Linked DNA regions of Homo sapiens: regions 1, 3 and 4 are each linked to region 2. Evidence: promoter capture Hi-C in human tissues and cell types (Jung and others, 2019). All regions are on one chromosome and are shown on one strand. The core of a region is centred on a gene start or on the middle of the fragment in contact, and the rest is flanking DNA. Distances in the headings are between cores, read along the strand shown.

Region 1 (7,151 bases), core at 857-3,356, 1.5 Mb after region 2:
TCTCCTACTGTTATCTTTTCATTTATCCAGAGGTCATTCTTATCTCTTCTCTTGGTTGAATCTCAAGGTTGTCCCAGCTTATTTTTGTAATATGTCTGCACCTGGTGTCCCTGATCTTATTAAAACAGCTCATCTCCTATTTTCAGCTTTTTTTCTAGGCAGTATTTTTAACCCATTTATTCTTCTTTCACTAATTCTATCTTCAATAGTTAAATACATTCTAAGCCAAGTTTATAACCTGTAATGTTCTAAATACTTATTTTTTTTAATTCCATTGTTTTCTTTATCAAAGACAGGAGTAATAGATTAGGTTTGTATTTGTAAAAATAATTTTATTAATTTACGATTAGCATGTGTCTAATAAGAATCAATCTTTTCAGTTAAACAGGCAAATGGGCTAATGTTCTCTCTTTCTGAAATCAAAAACTGAATGGTCAAATCGACTTCACACAACAACCTCCAATCTTAAATGATCCAAATATGTGGTTATGTCACCTACTGCTTGGTTTTCTCTTTTAAATAAAGTGTTGTCTAGTGTAAAATACTGATCTCTTTCCCATCTCAGAAGAAAAGCCCAAGACATTCAGAATTCAATAAACTTATTTTTGAATCAAACCGACTTTTTCTGAGAAGAAAGACAAACTACTGAAGGATGCATATTTATTTTGTCACCATCTTGCTATCTTCCCTTCTCCCTTCTCACTATATCCTTCCATAATCACCCCATCTCTCTCTCTCTCTCTCTCTCACACACACACACACACACCCCACACACACCATCCATCAGGGGAACTACAGTACACACTTATAACTCAGAGGGTCCCTGGTTTATAACCCTCCTAGCAGCAATACAAATGTCCACATTTTATGATCAGGTTTTCCTTGCTAGAAGCTTTTGTGAGGTCATCATAGCCAAATGTTATTTTATTTCTTTTATTTCAGAGCCTATTTAAGCAATTCTGAATATAATGTTCAAGTTTTCAAAATGCATAACTGTAGATTCATTATAATTCTGTCAAATTTCATTTGTTTTATCCTCAGTAAGCATGACCCCTGCTCTCCATACAATAATGTCTTTTCTCAGCCTCTAGTGTTTTAAATTCAGTAATTTCATTCTCTTAAATTTTATAACTAGTTGTCACTTTGCATCCTTTTAACAGTTGTTCTTTGAACACTTCATAAGGCTGAACATATTGTTATTTCACTTGATCTATACTGAGTCTACTCATAGCAAGTCGGGTTTATATTTAACCTTAAGGACCTACATCCATTCAACAAACATGTTGAGACAGTCCTTGCTCTTACAGGGCTCAGAATGTCTTAGCATGTTACCTGTGTATACATAATAGTAAATACATATGGACAATGCACTTTAGAACCTGTACAAGGTAGAGTAGAGTAGAGAAAGGAGTAACCTTCCAGCAGTTGGGATCATTTACTAGAGGTCATACCTATGCTGATGTTTGAAGTATGTGCAAAAAATGTAGCTTCTGTGGAAACAAAGCTACAAACAAATGAAAAGTCAAATCTAGTTTACAATTACTTTTGCCTTTTGCTGGCATATGCCATTCTCCTAGCAAATATTCAACTTTTCTAGATAGATTAATGCCCTCTAAGGGACCTACCATTTATGGGGCTTAATATCATTGAAAAGAAAGCTCAGTTTAATATTATTTATAATTTATTGCCATGAATTCTGGTAGAATAAAAGCTCCTTTTGTTCACCAATGCATTATAAGCATGGAGTATAAACACTATGCATTGAACAAATATTTGTTAATCTGACTAAATGAACAAATATCCTAGTATTTCATTTTATAAACATGAACAGAGCACTTACCTTATGGGTTATACTAGACCTCACTATCCTATTAAAGGTGATACAAAAAGAAACAATACTGTAAGTATTTGCAACATTTACTTTACAGTTAAAGGGAAGGCAATAGTAAGGTCAGTTGGTCAGTTAAGTTACTTTTCAACTCTGAAATAAAAAATGCTTTCTAGGAACAGAAGGGTAGGCTAATGGTAAGGAATAGTCATAACACAGGAAGGGCATCTAGCTTCACTGGCTGAAGCTAGAAAAGTCAAAATGCAATGACTCTTTTTCTTTTTTTTTTTTTTTCTTTGAGACAGAGTCTCGCTCTGTCACCCAGGCTGGAGTGCAGTGGCACGATCTCTGCTCACTGCAAGCTCTGCCTCCCGGGTTCACGTCAAATGACTCTTCTTTTGAACAGGACTTGCTTCACATCTTCTTTTCCCTCCTGATTGCTTTGTCCAGGGTGCCTGTGCTAACACCTCTGCTGTGTTAATAAAATTTCCTTTTCTTGCCAGCCTTCAAGAAGAAAGATGATTAAAATGCACCTAGTTCTGCACTCAGGAGCCTATACTTAAGATCAGTGGCTAAAATAGGCTTTCAATTTCCAAAACTATGAATAAGTTACCAGAGTGAGTTTCCAGTGAGTCGGCTGTAAGGCATACTAATGCCTGTCTAATGCCATATCAGGTCTCTCCCTGACCTAAGAAATCACTCCCTGCCTAAGCCCTCATTCTCCCCTAAATATCCCCTACTATGTTAGTTGCCTTTTGTCTAAAACAAAATCACTAAAAAAAGCAAGACCAAATAAAACCTCATATGAACAAAGTAGGCCTTTTAAGCAAAAATGTTTTATGTGATAGCCACACTGCCTGATGCACTGTAAATGTTAAATGTTAAATAATGGTTTACAATAAGAGGGAAGACGGAGAGCTTACGACTCAGAAAACTACATTTTCATTTCTGACCTAGGCAAAATGAATCATGTTGCTATTGTTCGCCTATCTCAATAACTTAGAAATGTTGTCATTTCTTTTACAGAGAAGACACAGTATAAAGTTGGAATACTGCAGAAAGAAAAAGAGAACTATCACTGAAATTAAGTCAAAATATTTGGTTGAGTTCTATTTAACATATCTTAAGTTGCATAGCCATGATTCAGAGGTTTCATCTTCCATTTACAACAACATAATAATTTTGAAATCACCATAAAAATCCCAAGAACCTAATGTGGTAGCTTCACAAGGAAGCATGCCTCCTGCCTGCCTTCCTTTCCTTTCCTCCTTTCACCATACATCACCTCCACATTACAGATGAAGAAAATGAAGATGCTGGCACAAGTGGATTAAGGGCCTTGTCCTGTAACTGAACTGTCATTTGAACCCACGTCTGTGTAACTCCAGAGGTAAGATTTTTGGAGAGCAATAGCTACCTATATATGGATGCTACCTATATATAGTATACATGTAACTATCTAGATACTTTCTATCATGCCAAAGTCACAACTTTAGAAAAAGATAGGCTAAAGTCAGGAAATTGGATGCATTTTCAACGGAAATGTCTCAAAGAGAGTATATTATGATGATTAAAGCAAAGCTCACTAGAGTATTAGAACAAAATGACAATGTTCATACACTGGTGAGGGTGCACTGTGTGTGTTATTTAAGGCATTTATGTAACTACACAACCCTACTATGAAGCAATTGGGTGACATCTATCACAACCTAAAATAGCAACAGTACTTTGGAGAATCAATCCTAGACAAATAATTTAAACGTGTGGGAAATGTGATATGTACAGAAGGATCCACCTTATCCTTATGTTTAATAGCCAAGCAAAAAAATAAAAATAAAAATAAAAAAAAGAAAGGAAAGAGAAAGAGAAAGGGAAGAGGAAAGGGAAGGGGAAGGGATTCCCAACCATTAGGACTATAACTATGTTAACAACGGAACACTGATTCCATTAAATACTATGCGGACATAAAAAATACTGGTTATTTTGAAGATTATTTTAGGAAAAGGTACAAATGCTTATGATACATGTTGGTCCCATCACTCAGCTCCAGCTACTACTGAGCACCCTGCCTCACGCATCAATGTCAATGAGAATGGAAAGAATCTGACTTGAAGATGGATTCCCTAAGCGTTCAGTCTGGTAAACTGGTGTGAATAAGTCAGAATCCAATAGGTAGCTTAATTGTTGCTTCCTAAACCCCCCAAATTTTACTTATTTGTACTAGGTAAAGGTAGAAAGCACTGGTTTAACTTAGTTGACCAAATGAGGTGAAAAGCTACATATTCAAAAAATGCACAATATGAGGAATTAGAAAAAACAAGCCCATGGTGATATTATTGGAAAGAAATATACCAGTAAGAAGACATGAAGTGATAAAAACTATACTTCTTCTTCCAGCATTTTAAAAATATTTCTATAATATGGTTCAACTGCTTCGCACAAAAAAATTTGAGTATATTTTTAACTGTATTGTCATTCCTATGAAACAGTTCCTTCACAAAACACTCATATTTAAGGAATACATGTTTTTTTTGTTTTTATTTTTGTTTTGTTTTTTACAAAATCAAAGAAAGAAATTAAAACATAAGGCAAAAAACACTTATTTTCCTTGCTACTTAAGACTTCAAATTATGCTACTTTTTTCACTTAAAAGTTTATTTTTTTTCGGATTTCTGGAGTCAATTATTGAAACTCTCTGAATAGGCTGCCAAAATAAGTATCTACTGATATTTTATTTCCACTTTGTAGAGCCCTAACTGAGCATTCATGTTACCAATAAAAACAGGATATTATCTCTCCATAGTCTAAAATCCTAAATGACTTTATCAGTTTACAAATAAAATTCAAAGAAATGATCTCTTCTACTTCTACCAAGAAAAAAGCCAACTAACCAAAATTATTAGGGAAAAAAACTCAACATTTCAACTGATAACATTCAGATGAACCTGAACAATTACAATATAGATTAAAAATTAGAAAAAATATATGAAGTATAAACATAGCTAAATGACTAAAATATCCTCATGTTTGATTAATGAATTGTGTTATGTTTCCCAGTTAACAAATCCTTTAACCATTGACCACCAGACTTCAATCTATAAATACTTTAGAGAAGTAAATTGTTTCCATTGGATAAGCATTACTGTTTTAAGTTATACATGGCTTCTAATATATTAATTTGCAAATTTTTACATTAGTGACCTCAGATAACAAATGCACTTTAACAAGTATCTTGTACTCAAACACCATGGCAGCTCATTTCAGGCAGCCTGCCAAAAGCAAGGGAATACATTGCATTTTGAAATACTGAAGTTATTTAACACTTTGTCTTGAAGATATGCCTCAAATATATTATAAATTTCCTAGCTTTATCATGCAGACATACTGATTCTAATTTAATCATTCCCTCTGGTCTCAAGAACACCACTATAAACAATCATTTTACAAGGATCCAAGAGTAGGTAGTTACGCACAGTGGGTTAGATCTGTACTGATTCTGGTTATTTCATTTATTGAGATTATAAAACATTTAGGAGACAAACATGCCTATCTTGGATTCAAAAATATCACATGGATAGTTGTATTATCAAGCCCAGAAAAATATGTTACTGTATAATCAGTGCATCAGTTTTATGAGGGGGAAAAAAATAATCCAACAATTTATAATAGCATTATAATTCTAAACTGCAATCCCCTAAAATCCCACCCTAGCGTTCATATTTTTACTACCATACTTAATAGTATAATCGATGTTTCTCTTTCTACCTCACTATTTAGCATATATTTTCCACCCAGTCACTCAATTAAAACTCCTCCCCTTCAGACTCTATAAACCACTGGGCAAAAAAAGATACCAGGAAATGGAGACTGCGTATCATCATCATACTTAAGACCAGAGAAGCAACTCAAAGCACTTCCCATTAGGTATGTTATATACATATACATATGTACACATATGCACATACATATCTATACACATATACATATGCATACATATATGTACATGTACACACACACACACACACACAACCATATAACCATTTACTGATGGAAGAGGATAACATTTACTGAGTGTATCCTATGCACTGGGCACTGCACTTAGCATGATTCACATATTATATTATTAATATTTAATCTTCAGAGCAACCCCATGAGGTTATAAATAACTAAAGACTCAGAAAGTACTCTGGCCAAGGTTACTTAGGTAGAATGTTAAGTAAGGTCTAAAGACTATGAGCTCATTAAGGCAAAGGACTATGATCTCTCTAGTTCTACATTCCAGTGCCTAGCACAGGGCCAAAACATGGGTGTTTCAATGTCTGGTAATAAAGTGATATTTGAACCTTAGTCAATAATCCAAGCCACAGCTCCATTCTCACCAAAAACAAAAACAAACAAAATTATAAAACATACTCCAGACTATGTGCAGCAGTGAGATGTATTATTATTACAGGAAAAGTGTGGGCACAGGAAATTTTATCAAACGTGGCATAGTGCACATTTTACTAAAGCAAGAAAAGATATGAATTTTTTAAATATTTCCTTTTTGCAGGCTGTGTTTGTATTTGATTTGATTCTCAAGATTTTCCAAGAGCTTGGCATGTTGATGGACTTGTCTACCAAGAATACATTTTATAAAACTCTAAAGTATTTTTCCGGAACTTCATCAGAAACGGAGGTTAAACTACTCACTTTTGTTTTACTGTTTATGCACCCATTAGGCAGCAAGTACACACTTGAGGCTCCTCGCTAGCAGTATTGCTTACTACTGAGAATCTGCATGTTCAGCTTTGCTGGCTTTTGTCAATATAGTGGTAGTTATATAGGCTGTTGGCTGTCTCTTTTCTAGATTTCTGTTTCTTTGGGCTTTGCAAGCATCATAAACTTTCTTTACTTTTAAAACCTTCTTTTCAAGTAATTGGCAATTTTGGAGTAAGTTAAAGTTTTTGAATTCAGGCTGGGTGCGGTGGCTCAAGCCTGTAATCCCAGCACTTTGGGAGGCCGAGGCGGGTGAATCACAAGGTCAGGAGATCGTAGCCATCCTGGCTAACATGGTGAAACCCCGTCTCTACTAAAAATACAAAAAAAAAAAAAAAAAAAAAAAAAAAAATTAGCCGAGCGTGGTAGCGGGTGCCTGTAGTCCCAGCTACTCGGGAGGCTGAGGCAGGAGAATGGCGTGAACCCAGGAGGTGGAGCTTGCAGTGAGCCGAGATCGCGCCACTGCACTCCAGCCTGGCGACAGAGCAAGACTCCGTCTCAAATAAATAAATAAATAAATAAATAAAATAAAAAAAGTTTTTTTTAATTCAAAAGGAGTGTCGAT
Region 2 (6,866 bases), core at 626-3,125:
CTAAGGGGTGCTCTACCTGTGCCTAATCTAAGTACTTCTCCAATATTCCTGTTTTGAAAGGAAAGATAACTCTTTAAGAAGTTTCTCTTCTTTTTTCGCCTTCTCTCTAATTTCCGTTTATCCTGCAGGCAAAGTATCTTAAAGGGTTGACTCAACTAATATCCCTCCTGTTTTGAGCAGTATAGCCTAGTGATTTAGCTCTCAGGTGCTGAATTCAGATAGGACTTGGTTCCAATCCAGGCTCTGCCATTTGCTAGCTATGTGTAAGGAGCAAATTGTAATAGGACCTGTGACTGTTGTGAGGATTAAATACAGTAGCCCTAGAAAAGGGCTTAGCACCTTGCTTGGCAAATAGTAATTGCTGTTAGTTACAATGTTCTCCAAGAGAATAATATATTAGCTATTAACGGTTTTTATGTGCTCCCTTGGAAAATAATCACAGTAGGCAAGGGTTAAAGATGGATGTAGTGACTTTCCCAGAGCAAAACACAGCAAGACTAGCTGAAGGAAAGTACCAGCTCAATATTTGTGACATTGTATGAGTTCTTAAACATATAGATAACTTAGTGTGGGATTATTTATTTTGACATAAGAATTAGAAAGAAGTCAAGGGCACTCTCTCGAAGCAATACTAACACAGTCCTCCTCATCTCCTCTCTACTGCAAAGCAGTCAACATTAATCAGAAAAGGAAGGCAGATTTTCCACGGCCCATGTTAAATAGTCTCAGTGTTGTCTATCCTCTAGGCTCATTTAAACCCGAACCATTGGACTATGCTCCCCTAGTCCCTGAGGAGCACTCCTGCTTGTACTTGTCATCTCTCATCCAGCTGTTTCAGATGGCAAAATAACTACTGCTCTAAAAATCTTCTGTAGCTCTTTTAGATAATTCTAGTGAGTAATTCACGAAAATTATTCTGTGGATAGTTCTAAGTAAATATTGCTCTTGTAATGATCACTTAGGACTTAAACCTGTCACAGAAACACAAATTCTTATTAATAATAATAATAGCCACTTGTAAAGTACCTACCATGTGCTTTATATATTACTGTCTCTAGTTCTCATAACAAAGCAGAAATTATCATATACATTTTGCAGAAAAATATATTTAGAACTTGTGAAAAGGCTTGTTTAAAGTTCCTCCACCTTGGCAGTATTAAAATTTTGTAGTGTATAATTCTACGTTGTGGAGGGCTGTCCTGTACATGATAGGATGTTGAGCAGCATCTGCAGACTTTACCCACTGGATGCCAGTAACATCCCCACCCCGGAGCTATGACAACTGAAAGTGTCCCCAGATTTGCCAAATGTCCCTTGAGTGGTAAAATCGCTCTCAATTGAGAGCCAATAGGTTTCCTATTGCTCTAGAGATTTATTGTTAACATGTGGTTTATGAAGACCAGGATACTTGATGTTCTTTGTTGAAACTCAATCAAGTAACCAATTTAATATTTGAGAAATGGTTTCATTTTGGATGATGGTAGAAGTGAAAATCAGCAATGAGAAGTCTTACTTGGCTTTTCCAAATCCTAGTATAGTCTCCTAAACATTTATTATTCTTTTTATGAACAAATACATACAGAATATATAAATTAATGAAGATAAGCCCGACACAGTACATGTACCAGATGGTGCCAGGTAAAACTACTAAACAATCATATATCGTAGCAGTGATTAAATGCTATTACCAGATAAGAAATGATGAAAATCAAGGCTTGCATAGGAATGTAGAGGACATACCTGTGCTGTGGTTTGCTGAGACTGATTACTTGGGTGAGAGCCTTCTTCATTCCGACGAGAACTTTGTTCATTCTCATTGTTCTCTCCTATAGGCTTCACCTTGTTGACTTTTGTCAGCGATTTAAACATCTTCTCTGAGGTGGTTCTGAAAACCCTCTGTATTTATGACTGTGCCTTAAGGTAGAGAAATGTACTTTGTTTTCCTTTTCTTTAGTAGACAAGCCAATTAGCTGTTTAATCAGGATTTTGTTCTGGTTAATTCCTACAGGCAACTCCTTAGCTAGTCAGGGCTTTGGCTTAAAAGCAGCAAAATACTTCTGCTTGGGTGATTTGCACTCTGTTTATGAACTTTAGGGAGTCAAAATGATCTTGTGAATAATTTAGAAGTAGAGGATTAAACACAGCTTCATAGTTGATTTGAATGGTTTAAATGTGATCACACAACACATTGTTTTCTTTCTTTTTTTTTCCTTCTAATTACCCACCTACTTATCTTTATCTGTCTAACTTTATGCAAAGTAATATGGAAATGATTAAAAAAAATCCATGAGGGCTTATGATATGAAGCAACTCATTCACTCCTCAAAATCCCCTTCTCTGGTCCTGCAATGTTAGGCCACTATTTTTAAGCTTTCTTTTTCTGTTCTTCTGGTGGTTGATTTCCACATGGCTAAACAAAAAAAAATCTGCTTATTCTACTCTGCCTCTGTGTGTGTGTGTGTCACTTTTGACCCCAAACCTGTGTGAGGCAAAGATACAAGACTAAGATTTGTTAAAGAGAACTTTTTTTTCCCCTTTGCCCGGAGCCCAGACAAAGTTGATGTTCTATGCTGTTGGATGAGATTTTTTAGTGCACCAAAGACGCATGATTTTTTTTAAAGGGGTTCTGTTTTTGTTTTTGTTTTTAATGAGAGCACTTATCTTCTGCAGTTTCAAATTAAAACCAAAGCCTTTATGCAACAAGGTACACACCCACACCCAGGGCAGCCTAAGTCAACCCATCAAATACTTCTTGCCCTCTGTATTTTTGCAATCTGGAAATTTCCTTGAGATACTAGTTATGTATTTTAAGATACGTTTATTACAGTTAATACAGAAAAAAGCCTTTAAGTATTTATGAAGAAAGCATTTTAATTTAGATTTCATATTACCAAAATCGCAGTTCCCTTATGGATTTTTAAAATAAATTAGAAGTTTTAATTTTAGATTCAACCATTTTATCAAAAATAAACTTACCTAATAAATAACGTAATTGAATACATGATTTGACTTATATGGCCTGGAAACACAAAGCTATTTATTTTTGTTAAAAAATGGTGGGGGGTGTTTTGGTTCCATTATTGCTTCAGAAATAATTCTGAATAGATTATCAAATATGTATAGGGCCATTTTAGGAACTTTTCAGATAATCCTGTAATCCTGTAATTGATTACATTTTGAACTTTGGGTATAAGCATAGAAGCTAAGCCAAAGGAAGGGAAGGTGTTAACAGCCAGCCTGTGACTAATTTTTTCCCTTCCTAAGACCTGCAGAGGAAAAAATGACCTCACCAGACTTTCGTATAAATCTCATAGTATTTATCAGTGGAAAGATACCAGGGAGTCCCTATTTATGAAACTTTTTTAGCAGGACATTTCTGGTCTGTCTAGATTGCTTATTGTAAATAAGCCTGGAATTTAGCAGGCTGGCTGGAGAATGGAGAGAGAGGTGCTATGTAAGCTCTGTAAGAGAATGTGGAACGAAGATGTCCCCAAACCAAACTGCCTTCTTTTTGTGAGAAATGTTTTTGCAGACAATGCTCAAAAATTACTTGTAAATGCAAAACCAAAATATGCCAACTGCAGGAGAAAAATGGTCTGTTTTGTTTGGATGCTGTGTCTGACAGTTTGGGGTTTTTCCCAAAATGAATGTTTTGTTTATTCCTGATGGCGGCTTGTAGCCAACGAATCATTAATAAAGTTTGGTGCTATGTAAGATCTGTGATTCTGGCTAGTCTGTTTTGACAATTTAACCCTTTAGATTTGTCACAGGTCAGAATAAATGGGATGGAGATATTATTAAATAATTCAAGCACCTTTAAAATGATTTAAAATACCTCCAACAACCTGATTTTTGACAATAGAGTGGCATTAACATGGGCATTAAAATTATAAATGACTACTTTTATTTTGTCTAGATCAGAGGTCTCAAAGTTTGGAAAATGGACAACTAGAAAGAATTCTGGAATGAAGGACATGAATTTTGGATCATTCTTTTTCACTTTAGTAGCTCTGTGGACTAAAGTAAATCTCTTGCCTTAACCTGGAAATAACTAGGTTGGGAAAAAACAATGTTTGTTTTCTTCTGGTTTTAAATTCTGTGATTTGTGGTCTTCCACAGAGGAGCTCTTCTAATCAGCAAGAAGATAAGGGAAGAAGGAGGGTTGCTTATTCTGGGTGAAATGGCTTACTAGAATTTCACCAATAACAATTTAATTTTTTTGTACCAAGTTGCCATATTGCTGAGGTAGTGTATGACAATGGGAATAAAAACAATTTTTCTTCAATATAACGGACTGTTTGTCTAACTGAAGCCCCTCAGCCACTCCTCCTTCTCTACAGCATAAATGTATAAACTCCTTACCAGGACATTCCCGGCCTTATATCATTGACCTTTGCCTAACTCTAGTTTAATCTGTAACCCCGACCTCTCTTTTGGCTCTTGCCATAATCAGTAATTTAAAATAGCTTGAACTTCTCTGCTTTTTCTTGCCTGTACCCATGTCTTTGCTCATGTGTACTGTTCCCCTGCCTGCAACGCTGTTCCACTTCTTGTCTATCTAGCTTAAGCTTGGTGTTTCCTTCTCCTACCGTTCCTCTCTTCTACCATGGACAGCTATACCTATAATCCTGTCTTTTTGTTGCAATTGTATCTGTGCCATACAGAGATCTCTACTTTGTCACTTCTCATTTTACAGCCATGTCCAGGTCTATTTTCTCTATTAGAGCATAAGCTCCTGCAGGCAGAGACTATGCTTTGGCCACCTTCAGATTCCTGTGCCCAGCTCAGTGCTTGACATATTCTAGGTACTCCATGAATGTTTGTTGAATAAATAACAGGAAGAAGATGGTATAGACCATCTCTTAGTTCTAGATTAACAGTGAAGAGATTCTCTGTGGTAGATGCAGTGTGTAAGAGAAGTGGAAAAAATCTCCCTGGAAGAATGCAAATGTTGTAGCCTCATTGTTTTTTATTAGTAGCCATTGCAGGCTGAAGTTGGGATAGGCTGAGAGAAGCATGCATAAAATAATGGTATGTTTTAAAACAAATGGTGTCTTAGATACCGTAGATGGTATACAGATGGCACATAGGAATATAACACGTAAAATACAAATCAGATGGTAATAAAGCTATGCTAAAACAAAAAGATTATCATCATTAGCAAACAGTTCCATATTCTTGTTGTGACTAGTAATTTTATTTTCAGCAGAGCATTAGCCATCTTACAGACAGCATTGTTTTAATCTTATTGATTTTTAAGTTTTATGTTAAATTTTCAAACAAGTTTTAGCTTTATGGTTCTATAAAAATTATAAGCAAATGAAGATTATATCTAGTTTCAGGTTGGAACATATTTAAGTATTATTCTTATGAATTATTCAAATAGGATCTGTAATAAAGTTTTCACTTAATAGGAGTCAGGTTTGGGAAATGCTATCTTTCTTTGAGGGAATCTTTAATGATGGAATTTCAGACATTCCCACTGGGGGCAATTTTGAACGAGGAGGACTTTCTTCTGGTAATTCTCAAATCACAGTCTCCTCTGCTTCTGGACGGGGTCAAGGGTTGAAGACTTGTTTGTTTTTGGCAAATTATTGGAAACAAATTAAGGTTATAAAACCAACTAAGGTTATATTTTCCCCTATGTCTACTAGAAAGAAACATTTAGGCAATTTTCCAAGATCTTTCTGAATTAAGTTCAAGTAGTCTGAATATTATTTCAATAAGAGAAGAGCAACCACCGAGTATAAAGGGAATAGCTGGTTTACAGTAGATAACCTAAAACAGTAATTGAAGGGAAACTCCCAGAAGTTTTCCCCCATCTCAGGTTCAGGGCTGTGTATTTTTAGGAGAAGATAATAACCTGGTAACAAACCTGAACACTGACCAAGTTCTGAAAAATTAACTACGCTGAATATACTTAATAAGGCAGGAAAACAGGTGAGTAAATTATGAGCTTTTTTAAAAAAAATTATAAGACTTTAGAGAAAAAAGTTACTAGCAATGTCTGGTTACCTGCGAACAAGGTTTAGGTGCTCATCTACAAAATGGAAGCTGGAATAACAGGCTAGATTACACAAGCCAAGGAATAAGATGACAGACAAAAATTCCCTGCTGTAAGTTAAATTCTCAACAAATATTTGCCAATCAATTGAATAAAACAAATTGTGTTTTCTGAAGCACTCAAATTTAAAATACTCTGTATATTAAAGCATATAATTCTATTGAGCAGTGAAGATTTGGCTTCTTAGTGTGTGTCAGGTGCTCAGCTAGCTGCTGTGGGGTATACAGAGATGACCAAAATATGGCATCTGCCTGTGCACACTCACCTTTTGGGACGGAAAGATGGAAGGTTTATAGACAATCTCAAGACAGCTTCCATAATGGCAGTGTGCGAGCCATGCCACCTAAGCAGAGAAGAGCAGGTGACCAAGTCTGCCTTTGTGTGAATGGACTGTAAAATGGGGAGTAAAGCTCTGCGGAGGAGCTAATGCTCATGACAGGTTTTGAAAGATGAGAGATATTCCAGGCAGATGTTGAAAGGTCCAGACATCAGAAACAACATCCAGTGAATTAAGGTATTACAATAGTTAGCAGTTTATGTGGCCAGCACAGTGCCCTTAATATAGTAGATACATAACAAAGACTTGTTAAACTACTGTTGAGTATTAACAATAAACATGAAACATATACAATTTTCTTTATATATACTATGTAGACCATATCAGTCTCAAAAGAAACTGATGGCATTGATTTTATGTTCTTTTAATTATTGTAGGATTAGCAAAACGTTAACTTTGCATTCAAAAAATAAATATTCAAAGAACATTTCTGAGTATATTTATTTTTCTTGATGATATTGACTA
Region 3 (7,402 bases), core at 644-3,143, 1.6 Mb after region 2:
ATATGTGTATATTTGTATACATATACAGAGAGACAGATTTAAATTTTGAGACACTCCCTCCCAAAAACTGTTAAAACTTAAGATTTTGAACTTATTCCAACTTGCCTTTTTATGATTGAATTACCACTTGTAGATGATATTTGTTTCTCAAAATGGCACTAAATTATATTTTTTAAATTAATTTTTAAGGTTTGCTACCTTGGCCAAAACTAGATTTTAAAATTACGTATCATTTGCTGCCAATGTATTTACTACTCAGCAGAAGGCTACGATGATTTCCAAAATGGAACATCCTTTGGAACTACAGATGATAACACATGTTAGATTTAAGTTACACATTCTGTATTTCCTCATGACATTTATTTCAGAAAAAAAATCTGAACTATCTACCTTTGTGATTCAGTAGTTACCAAATTTACAGGGTCAATATTGCATTTCCCATCCCCTTTGGCTACATAAACTAAAGCTTCTAGGCTTACGACTATAAAATTTCAAATTTGGAAATGGCCTTAGTGACAGTTTAGTTCACATCTCATTGTTGCAGATGAGATATCAAATAAGTTACATGTCCAAGTTCAAAGCCAGGTTAGCAAAAGAACCTGAGTTAAAGCCCACTTCCTTCAACTTCTCCCCCAGTGCTCAATTACACCACATTGCTAGCTATCTTGCCATTCCCAATGTTATATGGACACGATATGTTTTTCACTATTTTTTACTATTGTAGAAAACACTTTAATTTCTTTTTCAGTCAATTCTTATCCCTCCCTATACATAATTTTTGAAAAACTTTTTTGTTGTTGTTCAGAATCTGAGGTATAACAGAGCTGGCTTAAGTTTCTTATTGAATCCTACCCATATTATGAAAAGGAAGCACTTGGGGTTTGATCCAATTAAAATAAAAAGGCCTACTGAATTATAAAGGCCTATTTATTTTCTATGGCATTAGAAAAGATGAACAGATTTCAGCGAACGTGATGTTGTAAAAGAAGGTGTGAGCTGAACTTGATATTCTATGATAGTAACAGATGACATGACAAAATGTGAAAATCACATTCTTGAACTAAACTGTCTAAGAAAAACCTACGGGAAGAAAATGTACTGATGTTAGCTTGGTTGATTTTCAGTACATTATATTTTTAATAAATGGAAAGGTGTTTAAATAAAATCTTCCTATACCAATTGATATGTCCTAACCTGATAGATGTTTATGTCATTAGATGCTATGGTGCCAATTACTTCCTTATCGACCTTTATTTTCTATTAATAATAATGACATGTGGCTAGATGTGGTGGCTCATGTCTGTAATCCCAGCACTTTGGGAGGTCAAGGAGGGAGAATCACTTGAGCTCAGGAGTTTGAGACCAGCCTGGACAACATAGTGAGATCTTGTCTCAATGAAAATTAAAAAAAAAAAAAGAAAAAAGAAAAAGCTGGGTATGGTGGTATGTGCCTGTAGTGCCAGCTACTCAGGAGGCTAAGGTGGGAGGATTGCTTGAGCCCAGGAGGTTGAGGCTGTAGTGAGCTATGATCACGTCATGTAATGGTTTCATGAATAACCATAGACCTGAGTGATCCGGCCCAGGCAACTCTGAACAGAGAGGCATAGTCAAGGTAGAACATGTAGGAGAAGCTAGAGAACCTTAAAACAATTGAGACTCTTGTTCTCCTTATCATAGCTTTGGGCCCTTATGAGCACCCTAAACAGCCAGCATATTTGAGACGTTTTGTTAAACCTGCAATCTTGCGGTACATAAAAATCTTGATGAATCAGTCATACAGCCCCTGTTGTTGACCAGTTAGAAACTGCTACAGTGGAGAATTATAGGCTATATTCAGGAGACAACCTTTACTCAAGAAGGCATGGTACCACCATTCTTCCATGTCCAAATGAAATAATGCATCTTGATTTTTTAAGCAAGCAAAGAACAAGAGAAAAGCAACAGTGTCCCAACATAAGAATGTAAAATTCTATAAAATATAATTTTTATCTCTGAAATGTCTCATGATTAATTATTACCAAATTTATATGCAATACAAAAGTACCCAATGCAAACTCTGACTTTTTAGGTACATGCAGGCAAACCTGACAAAGGTTTGAATAAATCTTAAATCAGTTAAGTAAATATATTGCAAGAAAAATTTAGGAAATAGTTATACTCAATTCATATTTGTCATAAAAGACCCCTTTGAAATCTAAAATATCTCTGCTTTCTTTAATCAGGAACAACAAAATCAATTTTTGCCTTATCAAGACTTTTTTTGTCACAAAAGAGTAATCATTTTATGCTTTGATATATGCATCATTTAGAATTTTATATGTTTTTATTTTACCACTAAATCAGCTTGAAAATTTTTTCCTCCCTGGAAATGTATGCTATTGTTTAGAAATTGATAAGGAATATGCTGTTCACATAAGTAATATCTGACAAACTATTCAGAGTTGACGATATGAGAGGTATTACTATCATGAACTATGTTCTGTCTCAAATTTCATAACAAAAATGCTCACAGCATACCAAAAAAAAAAGCCACAGGATCATGAAAATCCCTATATGAGATAGCTATTTTAGGAACAAAATGATTTTTAAGACAGTAGACATTAATAATTATTTGTTAATAATTTAGCTGCTTCTGACCAATGAACACCTCTGATTCAGACTGCTGTCCAATGACAACAGTTTTTGACTTTTAGTTAATATTAGCAATGTTCCCTTGCATCGTGCTAATTATCACATACTGAAAGACCAACTCTTAAAAAAGGGATCCAATGATATATGGATATCTTTACCTAAGTGAGTATATACTGAAAACTTAACAATAAAAGTGTTCCACTTGAAATGAAAGTAGAGCAGTGTATTGAATCTCTTCCATAGTACTACTCCTGGTAGTGTCTGACCCTTTCTTAGCTGTAAGAGATGTTCCTTTTTGCTTCTTAAAAAACAAGCTAACCAAGCAAAACCAAATGCACTCTCTTTCTGTAACAGGATTTCATCACCATATTAAAAATATCTCTCACTTCGATAATTGACAACTCCAAATATTTATACCCTTAAAAATCAGACAGGAAAGAGTTAACATGAATACCTCTAGCCAACCACCCTCTTCAAATCCCCCACTTCCCTGGGAAAAATATACAGTCTTAAACCTTAAATCACAGAGATAAAAAAGAATGGGGGGACCACAAATTGTTAAGTTTAGTGATGAATAAAGCAATGTAATCTTAGTTGTCAGCATAAAAAGCATCCCCCTGAAGCTTTGTTCCAACTATAAAAACTTTCTGTGCTTACTGAAAAAAAATTTTATGATCATATGAGCTTCATGCATGACTGATATCATTACTGTTTATTTTAAGACTATCCTTGAGAATCAATCAAATAAAACATTCCCAGTGTGTATGTTTTGCAACCAGAATGAGGAACACAATGTAAGTGCCTCTTCTGGAGAGGAAGTGATGGACCATTCTTCCCATTAGTGTTTCCTATCAAAAAAAAGTCAAATAGAAGTGAATCAGGCAGAAATTTATGTCAGAAAACATCCCGTCATTCTGTGTTCTTGACAATATTTCCATTTCACTAGCAGCTACTCCTACAATCTAAAAAAAAGGGGGGGTATCATTACACATAAAGAAGCTTATAAATCCAACCAAAATGAGCTCAAGAGCTTAAAAATACTATTTGAGGATAACATAAACTAAGGCATATAATCTGCTCTAAACCATGAAAAACTTCCCATTTTATTAAGCAAGATTTTAAAGGTCTGAGATGGCACATGACTTATCTGTCAGGCTTAAATCTGTGTAATAAATATGACTAGAATAATTTAAATCCTCTAAAAATGGGAAAATAACTATTTTCTCCATAAACCATTTTTCCCCACACATCTTAATGAAGAAAGAGAAGGGGTCATTGGAATCCAAAATTAAATAAAATTTGTTAGTACAATCATAACTTTTTTGCATAATAATATCTGAACTTACTGAGGGATTCCAATATAAAGAAATACAATCTTTTATGTTTAGTCTCACAAAAAATCTAATAATCATCAAAACTCATGTTATCCTAACCTCTGAAAGCAAATCTAATACTTTCCTAAAGCAGGTAACCATCAATCCAGGCTGTCCTTCCCTTCCCTTATTCAGAAAGACACAACCTTGCACTTACTTTTACCACCTCCCACACACTCCACCTCACCACCATCACCACCAACCTGAAGCAATAGGCCCTTCTGTTTATAACATTATAAATAACAGCTTGCCACTTTAATTCCTCCAGCCTATGAACTAATCCTTCATTTCAACATTAAATTATCTCTTGATTTAAATGTTAGGTACAAAAATCCATCTGTGGCACGTAATTCCAAAAGTTCAAATTTGCAATAAAAAAAGTCTGGACTTTCAAGCCCCTTTCTCTTTTTATCTAGAAAAATAAAGTTGTATTTTTCAAAGGGTTAAACCTTTTTAGTTTTCAAATTGGGTTTTTTTTGTGTAATTTATTCATACTTAATATCTGTGAAGGTCTTTAACTCTTGATAATAGCTCTTACTTTTTCAAATACTTTTTTTGTACTAACCATGACTTATTACATGAAGTCCTAAGAACAGTTTCTATAAACACAGTTATATTCAGAATATGCCTTTACACATGGCATTTATTATGCACACTCTGTGTATCAATTGGTTACATGAAGCATGTTCAAATACTGTGCAACAGGTCTTGCTATTGTGTAAACACACACTCCCAGCAAAATGACAATAAGCTTCATAATATCAACAATATAAGAAAAAAAATCACATTATTCCTTAAAAAATTATTCATAATTCGTTTGAGAGTTCAGAGGACATCAGATCTAATCAAAAGAAGTAAATGTTACTAAGACCCTCTTACTGGCTTTGTATCCCACCGTATATGTGATAAAGTTGTGTTACAGCCCAGGTGTATACACGCTTTCATTGATTTATTGCACATTACTGGCTTCAGTGCTGACTTGATGACAGGAAGAGTACTTTGGCAGAGGTCTGACAAGTCCCTATCCTTAAGTTCCCTTTTGCTTTGTGCCGTCTGTTCCCAAAGCTATCAAAGTAAAGCAAATGACAGTCTAAAACCTCCCCGTTTTGCCACGAGAGTGTGAAATCAAATTAAAAACACACCTCAAAACTATTACATTGGGCCACGTTTATTTTCAATTGGCGGGGGAGGGGGAAAGAAGACACTTAAAAAGAGATGGATTTCATGTCCTCTGTGTAGCCAGATCTAGTTACAGTGTATTAAGTTATGTCTAAATGAAAAAAAAAAAGATTCTCAAGTGTTTTATCACAAAGTAATGTTATTAAACACATCTAGTGTTCCCACGCTCTCCTCTAGATTCTTTGATTTTTAACCTCCTTTGTTAGGCACCAAACACTGGGAGAAAGATTTCAGGAACAATACCTAGGCAGCACATGATGCCAGGGAATTAATTCTGTCTTCCCCGAGCTGTTTATCCATCATAAACTCAAGCTGCCTTATTTAGCTACACGGTTGCTATATGTAGGACTTCTCTTCCCTGGGTGAAAAGCATGGACCGGCTACAATTGTGTCTTTGAGCGCGCAGCATCGTGCTTTGTGCTGCCGGGGATAACGGATTCTGGGTCTCACACGCATCCGTCACCTAAAACACCCTTAAACTGAACCAGGGTCTCCACAGCTGGAAGGGAAACAACGTGCTGGGACCCAGGCTGCTCTGAGCTACAAGGATCCCAGGAGTGAAGGAAATGTTTCAGGGAGCAGCCCAGGCAGCGGGGGGAGGAAGAAAGCCCTCGCACTCTTACCTCCACATTGAAATACTGCTCCGTTCCGCAGACTGTAGCACATAAAATCCAAAGCAAGGTTTGCAAGAAAAACACCCCCGAATGATGCACGAAATCCAACCGTCTTCCAGTGCTGAATGTGAGTAAGATCATAGTGAACTGTGCTTCAATGGATGGACGAGCTCCCCTTCGTTTTCTCCCTCTCTCCCTCTCCCTCCCTCCCTCGTTTCCTTTCAAAAAAAAGTCCTCCGGGTGGGTAAGGAGCCTGCAGGTTCACCCACAGCCGGGCAAGGGGAGGAGACAGGGGCCCCGCGCTCGGCAGCCCCCGAGAGGCAGCGGCGAAGACAGGGTCAGCAGTAGTTCCTGTTCACCATCCTCCGGGGTCAGTCACCGGGAACGTGGCGCCTAAGTTCACCGGCGGTTCCGGCTCAAAGAGCCTAGTCGCAGCCGCAGCAGCAGCAGCCGCCGCCGCCGCCGCCGCCTCCAGCCCGTGCGTCCTCCTCCTGCACTGCCTACTCCTCCTCCTCCTCCGCCGCCGCCGCCGCCCCCAGCTCCTGCGGGAAGGGCCTCCGCCGCTCCTCACTCTCTCGCCTCTGCTTCTCCTTCCCTCCTCTCCTCGCTCCCCTCCAGAATGTTCATCCGTAATCTACATAACTCCTCCTTCCCGGGGTCTGCCTGGCTCTCGGGGCCCTTGGCGCGCGCGCGCGCGCGCACACACACACACACACACACACACACAGAGACACACCGCGACACACACACACACACGCGCGCATACACACAGCCCGACACACACGCACGCGCGCTTCTTAAAGGAGACGGCTCATAAAGGATTCCCCACTACGGTAGGGCGCACCGGAGGTATCCAGCCCGCGACAAGGGCCCTGGTTTGAGCACAGCTCTTCGACAGTATCTCCCATCCCGCATCCCCGAGGCAGGCACCCAGGAACTTGGGCGGCTCCATTCTTTCTTCCCGCCCACCCTGCCGCCTCGCATCTAAAAACGAGTGCGCCCCTCTCCAGCCATGAGCTGGGTGGGGCTCAGGCTGCGGACCCTAGTGGGGCCTGGGGAGCGGCCCAACCCTGGTCCTGGAGAGCGGTCGGCATTCCTGAGGAAGCGGCCCTGGAAGAATAGGGGCGCTGGGAATCAGAGGAGCGCCTGGTCACTGAGCGCCCCTGGGTGGCTCGGGTCGGTGGCCGGGGCTGACCAAGTTTGGGAAGACTGAGATAGCAAATCCCGAACGTCCAAAACTTTGTTGGGGTCCCGAGCCTGTGGCCTGGTGTCTTCCTGAATCCCCTCTACCATAGCTACATTCCGCCTTCCAGGCTTGAGGAGTAGGCACAGGGTTTTGGTGGCGGACTAGACAAATACAGAAGCGGGATGAAAACGCTCACTTTCCAAGTGAACGGTGGACACACGCGCACAGTGGGACCCGGGAGAGATGGTCCTGGGTGTTAACAAAACATCCGATGAGAGGGATGGGGGCGCTGGAAAGAAACCGGCTGCGGGAGCCAGGGGAAGGGTTGGGGAAAGAAGGAGAAGAAGCAGCCTGAGGAAAGGCGAGTAAAGCAGCTGGCAAGGGCGGGAGGAAGAGGCTGCTCGCAGACCGAGCGGGGG
Region 4 (6,574 bases), core at 2,510-5,009, 1.6 Mb after region 2:
TATTTAAGTATAATATATATTAGTGAAACATTTTGTCACATTAAATTTGGCAGTTTCTAATCATAGTAAGTGTTGTTCACATCATCTTATTGGACCATTGACATAGGTTTAATATTTAAAATTATACAATCATTGTTAATATTGCTTAATTGAAAAACATGTTTGTATGGCCTACAAAAAGTGCTTAAGGGTTGCCAGATTTTGCAAATGAAAATACAGGATTCACAGTTAAATTTGAGTTTCAGATAAACAACAAATAATTTGTAGTATATCTTTTGCAATATTTGGAATATACACTAAAGATTTATCCATTATTTATCTCAAATTTAAATTTATCTAGGCATCCTGTATTTTATATGGCAAATCTCTTTAGCATGTAAATATACAAGAGGTTAAAGCTTTTTTCTGAGCTATAGATAGATGGATAGATAAATATAGCATCACCTCAGTTATCTGGAAGTCAAACTTTATACTTGTTAAGGCTAAAGAATGAGATACCGTCCGAATTACAGGCAGACAGGGAGGTAAAGAATGTAAACAGGGAAGGAAGAAAAAGAGAAGAAAATAACAAACTACTCTGGCTCCATAAACATGACTTGCGAACATCTATTAATAGCAACTGTGAAAATAGCCAAACTCAGAGTAAGAAGGATTGAGCCTGATGCTCCGAAATTGCTGTACTCACACCAAGTGAAAAGCAACACTCATATCAGCAATCAATTGCACAAAACCTGAGAACCGTTTAAGAGAGAATGAGAAAGCAAAAAGAACAAAAGAGAAATGATGGGAAAGAGACAAAAGAGAGTTAGTTACAAAGAGCCAAGGTAATGACAATAGGAGTGGAGGTCTTAATAGAGCAGGAGATCCAGTGACTTAAATAAATTCTGCCATTGTAGAAATATAATGGAGTGGGTTTGTCTTTCATTCTCAAGAACTGACAATAGTATAAGGGTGCCACTCCACTGAAAGCCACATTATCATTTGGCCAACTCAACTCTGTGGCATGCAAAGAATAGAAATTAAGAAAGTCCTGGCAAAACCATTTTTGGTTCAGGTAATCACAATAATGAAAATCAGTCTTGCTGAAAATATGCAAATTTCAGTGATATGAGGGAAGATAAGTAATTTGCCTAAAGTCACCACAGCTAGTAAAGGAGTAAAATCAGGACTCACCCCATTACACCAAAGTGACACCAAACTTACACCAAAGTTACATGTTTATTTTACCTAATATTTTTATGTCTACCAACAGTTTATTTGCTCAGGAGGAAGAGTCACTATGGTAGAGAAGAGTTAAACCATAATGCAGTGGAGATATGTGACTTGCATGGTAGATTATTCATGGGGAACAAAACCATATTAAGTATGTCAAAATCCAACAGGTGAAAAGGTGAGAAAATATCCTTATTGTGTTCTCATTCTAATTGAAAAGACAAAAACGCAGTATATGAAAATACTTAGGAAAGAGTCATGTGACAAATAAAAATGAAAGGAAGGTTAACTCTAAGTGCTGAGAAATAAAAACCCATGGAACTGTAGAATTCTGAGTAGTTTATTCCCAGAAGAGTTCAGCAGGAATTGAAAGCAGAATGTATAAAATATTGATGAATTCTTGACCACTTGAACATGTACTAATGCTGTAATTAGTAAGTATCCTTGGCACACTGGTCACCTACTTACAAAATGCTTTTCTAACTATTTATATAAAAGACCTCCCAACCCTATATTTATTGTCAGTCACTATGATTCCAGTTGCCATGTTTTATTTTCTTTTTAGTTGTTTACCATTATGGTAAATTATCGCTTTATTTCCACCACTACCTTTGCAGTGGAGAAAATATAAGCTTCATGACAACAGGTACTTCCTCTGAACTGTTTGCTATTTTATCACCAACACCCAGCATAATGCCTGATTCAGAAAAGAAAGCTAAATCTTTGTTTAAAGAATGACAGAATGAAAGACTGATATTTATGAAAACAAATCCAGTGCCTGTAAGACATACAATTTTTGTTTGTTTTATGTTCTGGATTTTATTATGGAGTATGGGTCTCATATTCCTTGGTTCTCTTGCATTTTAAAACCTATTCCCTGCTTTTGAACTCTCAGGTAACAAGTTGAGTTAGTATAAAATTCATAGGTCACCATTTCTGTCAAATAATGAAAGTCCTTGGAGATTTCTGGCGCTGGTCATGTGATTATTTAATTTTGTTTAAATAATCAGTAATTATTTAGTTTAAATTATTTAATTCTGTTTAATTTGGAGGGTTTTTTGTTCATTTCCGTAGTATGTATTGTACTGGCTTAATCTGCTAAACTTCAGGGGCTGTTATTATTTCAATAAACTTTCTTCTATCATTTATTTCAATACTTTTACATTTTATTTGCTTTCTACCAACCAACTGTACTTCCTTCCTGTATTGTTAATTATTAGGAGGTATGATCAATAAGTCTAGAAATCATGATGGCTAATTTTCTTACCCAAGACATCTTGGAACTTTGGCTCGAAAGACACTGGAAAACAGCACACCACTCTCTAAGTGACTTGTTATTGAGACATACACAGCATGGCATGGTGACAATTAATGGCCCAATTGAAAAATTGTCTCTCTTGTAATTTTCTATGTAAGGATCATGGAAACAGACATTAATCAACTGTTTAGTTCCTAACAAGTACTGTACTAATACCAGTCCCCTATGAACTAGCTCTTAATGGCCCAGTTCTGCAGACAATCAAACTTGCTCACACCCTCCTTAATCCAAAATACAGCTTACAAAGAGAAGTATATTTCCAGTCACCTTATTTTATAACCCAGGAAGTTAATCCAAAAGAGTTTAAGAGAATTGCTCAAAGTTAGCCCAGCCCCTCTCTTGACTCTCGCTTAATTACTTTTTTCCATTAAATAATTTGTATGTTACATTTGGACACTATAGATCAAAAGATTTGGGAATGTGGACTACATGAAAATGTGTAAAGAGATTACTTATGCCAACTCTTCAACCATCATGGAATTCTTTTATGTCATTTTCTAAATCAAAATATAGTCATGTGTCACTTAATGACGGATGCATTCTGATAAATGCATTTCATTTTCATTATTGTTTGAATATCATAGAGTGCACTTACACAAACCTAGATGGTATAGCCTACTGTACATCTGGGCTGTATGGTATAGCCTATTGTTCCTAGGATACAAACCTGTACAGCATGTTACTGTACTGAATACCATAGGCAATTATAACATAATGGTAAGTATTTATGTTTCTAATCATATCTAAACATAGAAAAGGTACTGTAAAAATGCAATATAAAAGACAAAAAAAAATGGTAGACCTGTATAGGACACTTACCCTGAATGGAGCTTGCAGGACAAAGTTGCTCTGGATGTGTCAGTTAGTAGTGAATGAACGTGAAGGCCTGGACATTGCTCTACACTACTGTAAACACTGTACACTGAGGCTACACTAAATTTAATATTAAAAATATTTTTCTATTTTTTTACTTCAACTTTTATTTTAAGTTCAGGGGTACATGTGCAGGATGTGCAGGTTTGTTACATAAGTAAATGTGTTCCATGGTGGTTTGCTGCACAGATCATCCCATCACCTAGGTATTAAGTCCAGGATCCATTAGCTGTTCTTCCTTATGCTCTCACTCCCCCCACCACCCCCCTTGACAGGCCCCAGTGTGTGTTGTTCCCCTCCACATGTGTCCATATGTTCTTATTGTTCAGCTCCCACTTATATGTAAGAACATGCGGTGTTTGGTTTTCTGTTTCAGCATTAGTTTGCTGAGGGTAATGGCTTCCCACTCCATCCATGTCCCTGCAAACGACATGATCTCAATTTATTATAGCTGCATAGTATTCCACAGTGTATATGTACCACATTTTCTTTATCCAGTCTATGACTAATGAGCATTGGGGTTGATTCCATGTCTTTGCTATTGTAAATAGTGCTGCAGTGAACATACGCATGCATGTATCTTTATAATAGAAAGACTTAAATTACTTTGGGTTTATACCCAGGAATGGGATTTATGGATCAGATGGTATTTCTGCCTTTAGATCTTTGAAGAATTGCCACACTGTCTTCCACAATGGTTGAATTAATTTATACTCCCACCAACAGTGTAAAAGCATCCCTTTTTCTCTGTAACCTTGCCAGCATCTGTTTTTTTTTAATTTTTTTAATAATAATCATTCTGACTGGCATGAGATGGTATCACATTGTAGTTTTGATTTGCATTTCTCTAATGATCAGTGATATTGAGCTTTTTTTCATATGTTTGTTGGCCGCATGTATGTTGTCTTTTGAGAATTATCTGTTCATGCCCTTTGCCTACTTTTTAATGGTGTTGTTTGTTTTTTTCTTGTAAATTTGTTTAAGTTCCTTATAGAATCTGGATATTACATCTTTGTCAGAAGGATTAATTGAAAAACTTTTCTCCCATTCTGTAGGTTGTCTATTCACTTTAATGATAGTTTCTTTTGCTGTGTAGAAGCTCTTTGGTGTAATTAGGTCCCATTTATCAATTTTTGCTTTTGTTGTGACTGCTTTTGGCATTTTTATCATGAAATCTTTGCCTGTGCCCATGTCCTGAATAGTATTGCCTAGATTTTCTTCTAGGGTTTTTATAGTTTTGGGTTTTACATTTAAGTCTTTAGTCCATCTTGAGTTAATTTTTGTGTAAGGTGTAAGGAAGGGGTCCAGTTCCAGTGTTCTGCATATAGCTAACCAGTTCTCCCAGCACCATTTATTAAACAGGAAATCCTTTCCCCATTGTTTGTTTTTGTCAGGTTTGTCAAAGATCAGGTGGATGTAGGTATGCGGTCTTATTTCTGAATTCTCTATTCTTTCTTCTTTTGGGAGTGGGGACAGAGTCACTCTGTTGCCCAGGCTGGAGTGCAGTGTTGTGATCTCAGCTCACTGCAATCTCTGCCTCCAGGGTTCGAGTGACTCTGCTACCTCAGCCTCCCAAGTAGCTGGGACTATAGGCATGCACCACCAGGTCTGGCTATTTTTTGTATTTTTAGTAGAGATGGGGTTTCACCGTGTTGGCCAGGCTGGTCTCAAACTCCTGAACTCAACTGATACTCCCACCTCGGCCTCCCAAAGTGCCGGGATTATAGGCATGAGCCACTGCACCCAGCCCCAAGTTCTCTATTCTGTTCCATTGGTCTATGTGTTTGTTTTTGTACCAATACCATGCTGTTTTGATTATTGTACCTTTGTCATATAGTTTGAAGTCAGGGAGTGTGATGTCTCAGCTTTGTTCTTAGGATTGTCTTGGCTATTCTGGCTTTTTTTTGTTTAATATTAATTTAAAATTTTTTTTTCTAATTTTGTGAAGCATATCAATGATAGTTTAATGGGAATAGCATTGAAACTGAAAATTACTTTGGGTCGCATGGTTATTTTCGTGATATTGATCCTTTCTATTCATGAACATGGAATTTTTTTTCCCATTTGTTTTTGTCCTCTCTGATTTCTTAGAGCAGTGGTTTATAGTTCTCCTTGAAGAGGTCCTTCACTTCCCTTCCCTTGTTAGCTATATTACTAGATATTTTATTCTTTTTGTGGCAGTTGTGAATGGGAGTTCATTCATAATTTGGCTCTCAGCTTGTCTGTTCTTGGTGTATAGGAATGCTAGCAATTTTTTGCACATTGTATCCTGAGACTTTGCAGATGTTTCATATCAGCTTAGGAAGCTTTTGGGCTGAGACAATGGGGTTTTCTAGATATAGGATCATGTAATCTGCAAACAAAGATAATTTGACTTCCTCTCTTCCTATTTGGATGCTTTTTATTTCTTTCTCTTCTTGATGTCCCTGGCCAAAACTTCCAATACTATGTTGAATAATAGTGTTGTGAGAGGGCATCCTTGTCTTGTGCCGATTCTCAAGGGGAATACTTCCAGCTTTTGCCCATTCAGTATGATATTGGCTGTGGGTTTATCAAATAGCTCTTGTTATTTCAAGGTATGTTCCTTCAATACCTAGTTTACTGAGAGTTTTTAACATGAGAGGATGTTGAATTTTATCGAAGGCTTTTTCTGCACCTATTGAGATAATCATGTGATTTTTGTCTTTGGTTCTGTTTAGGTGATGAATCACATTTATTTTTTATTTTTTATTTTTTTCTTTTTTTTTTTTAATTTTTTTTTTAAATTTTTTTTTTTTTTATTATACTCTAAGTTTTAGGGTACATGTGCACATTGTGCAGGTTAGTTACATATGTATACATGTGCCATGCTGGTGTGCTGCACCCACTAACGTGTCATCTAGCATTAGGTATATCTCCCAATGCTATCCCTCCCCCCTCCCCCGACCCCACCACAGTCCCCAGAGTGTGATATTCCCCTTCCTGTGTCCATGTGATCTCATTGTTCAATTCCCACCTATGAGTGAGAATATGCGGTGTTTGGTTTTTTGTTCTTGCGATAGTTTACTGAGAATGATGGTTTCCAATTTCATCCATGTCCCTACAAAGGACATGAACTCATCATTTTTTATGGCTGCATAGTATTCCATGGTGTATATGTGCCACATTTTCTTAATCCAGTCTATCATTGTT

What was found. The method cuts DNA at HindIII sites, captures the fragments that hold promoters and counts their contacts. A contact is called where the count stands out against the background at its distance.
Region 1: a contact is called between a fragment that was not itself captured here and the fragment with the promoter of CNGB3 in region 2, in 1 of the 25 tissues and cell types used here (dorsolateral prefrontal cortex).
Region 3: a contact is called between a fragment that was not itself captured here and the fragment with the promoter of CNGB3 in region 2, in 1 of the 25 tissues and cell types used here (spleen).
Region 4: a contact is called between a fragment that was not itself captured here and the fragment with the promoter of CNGB3 in region 2, in 1 of the 25 tissues and cell types used here (dorsolateral prefrontal cortex).

What each region holds. Positions count from the first base shown.
Region 1 is chr8:88,255,938-88,263,088 of GRCh38, forward strand. All of the region lies in intron 1 of MMP16 (matrix metallopeptidase 16), which reads right to left. Among named protein-coding and RNA genes, the nearest start is that of MMP16, 68 kb to the right of the region's middle. The HindIII fragment of the contact is 5,154 bases long and covers 1-4,683 here.
Region 2 is chr8:86,741,759-86,748,624 of GRCh38, forward strand. CNGB3 (cyclic nucleotide gated channel subunit beta 3) reads right to left here and starts at 1,876. Exons shown (of 18, transcript NM_019098.5): 1 at 1,741-1,876. The coding sequence starts at 1,869. The HindIII fragment of the contact is 5,975 bases long and covers 1-3,469 here.
Region 3 is chr8:88,321,269-88,328,670 of GRCh38, forward strand. MMP16 (matrix metallopeptidase 16) reads right to left here and starts at 6,215. Exons shown (of 10, transcript NM_005941.5): 1 at 5,807-6,215. The coding sequence starts at 5,938. LOC105375630 (a long non-coding RNA gene) reads left to right here and starts at 6,576. Exons shown (of 8, transcript XR_001745653.3): 1 at 6,576-6,630. The HindIII fragment of the contact is 4,597 bases long and covers 1-4,192 here.
Region 4 is chr8:88,339,514-88,346,087 of GRCh38, forward strand. All of the region lies in intron 2 of LOC105375630 (a long non-coding RNA gene), which reads left to right. Among named protein-coding and RNA genes, the nearest start is that of MMP16, 15 kb to the left of the region's middle. The HindIII fragment of the contact is 5,276 bases long and covers 1,122-6,397 here.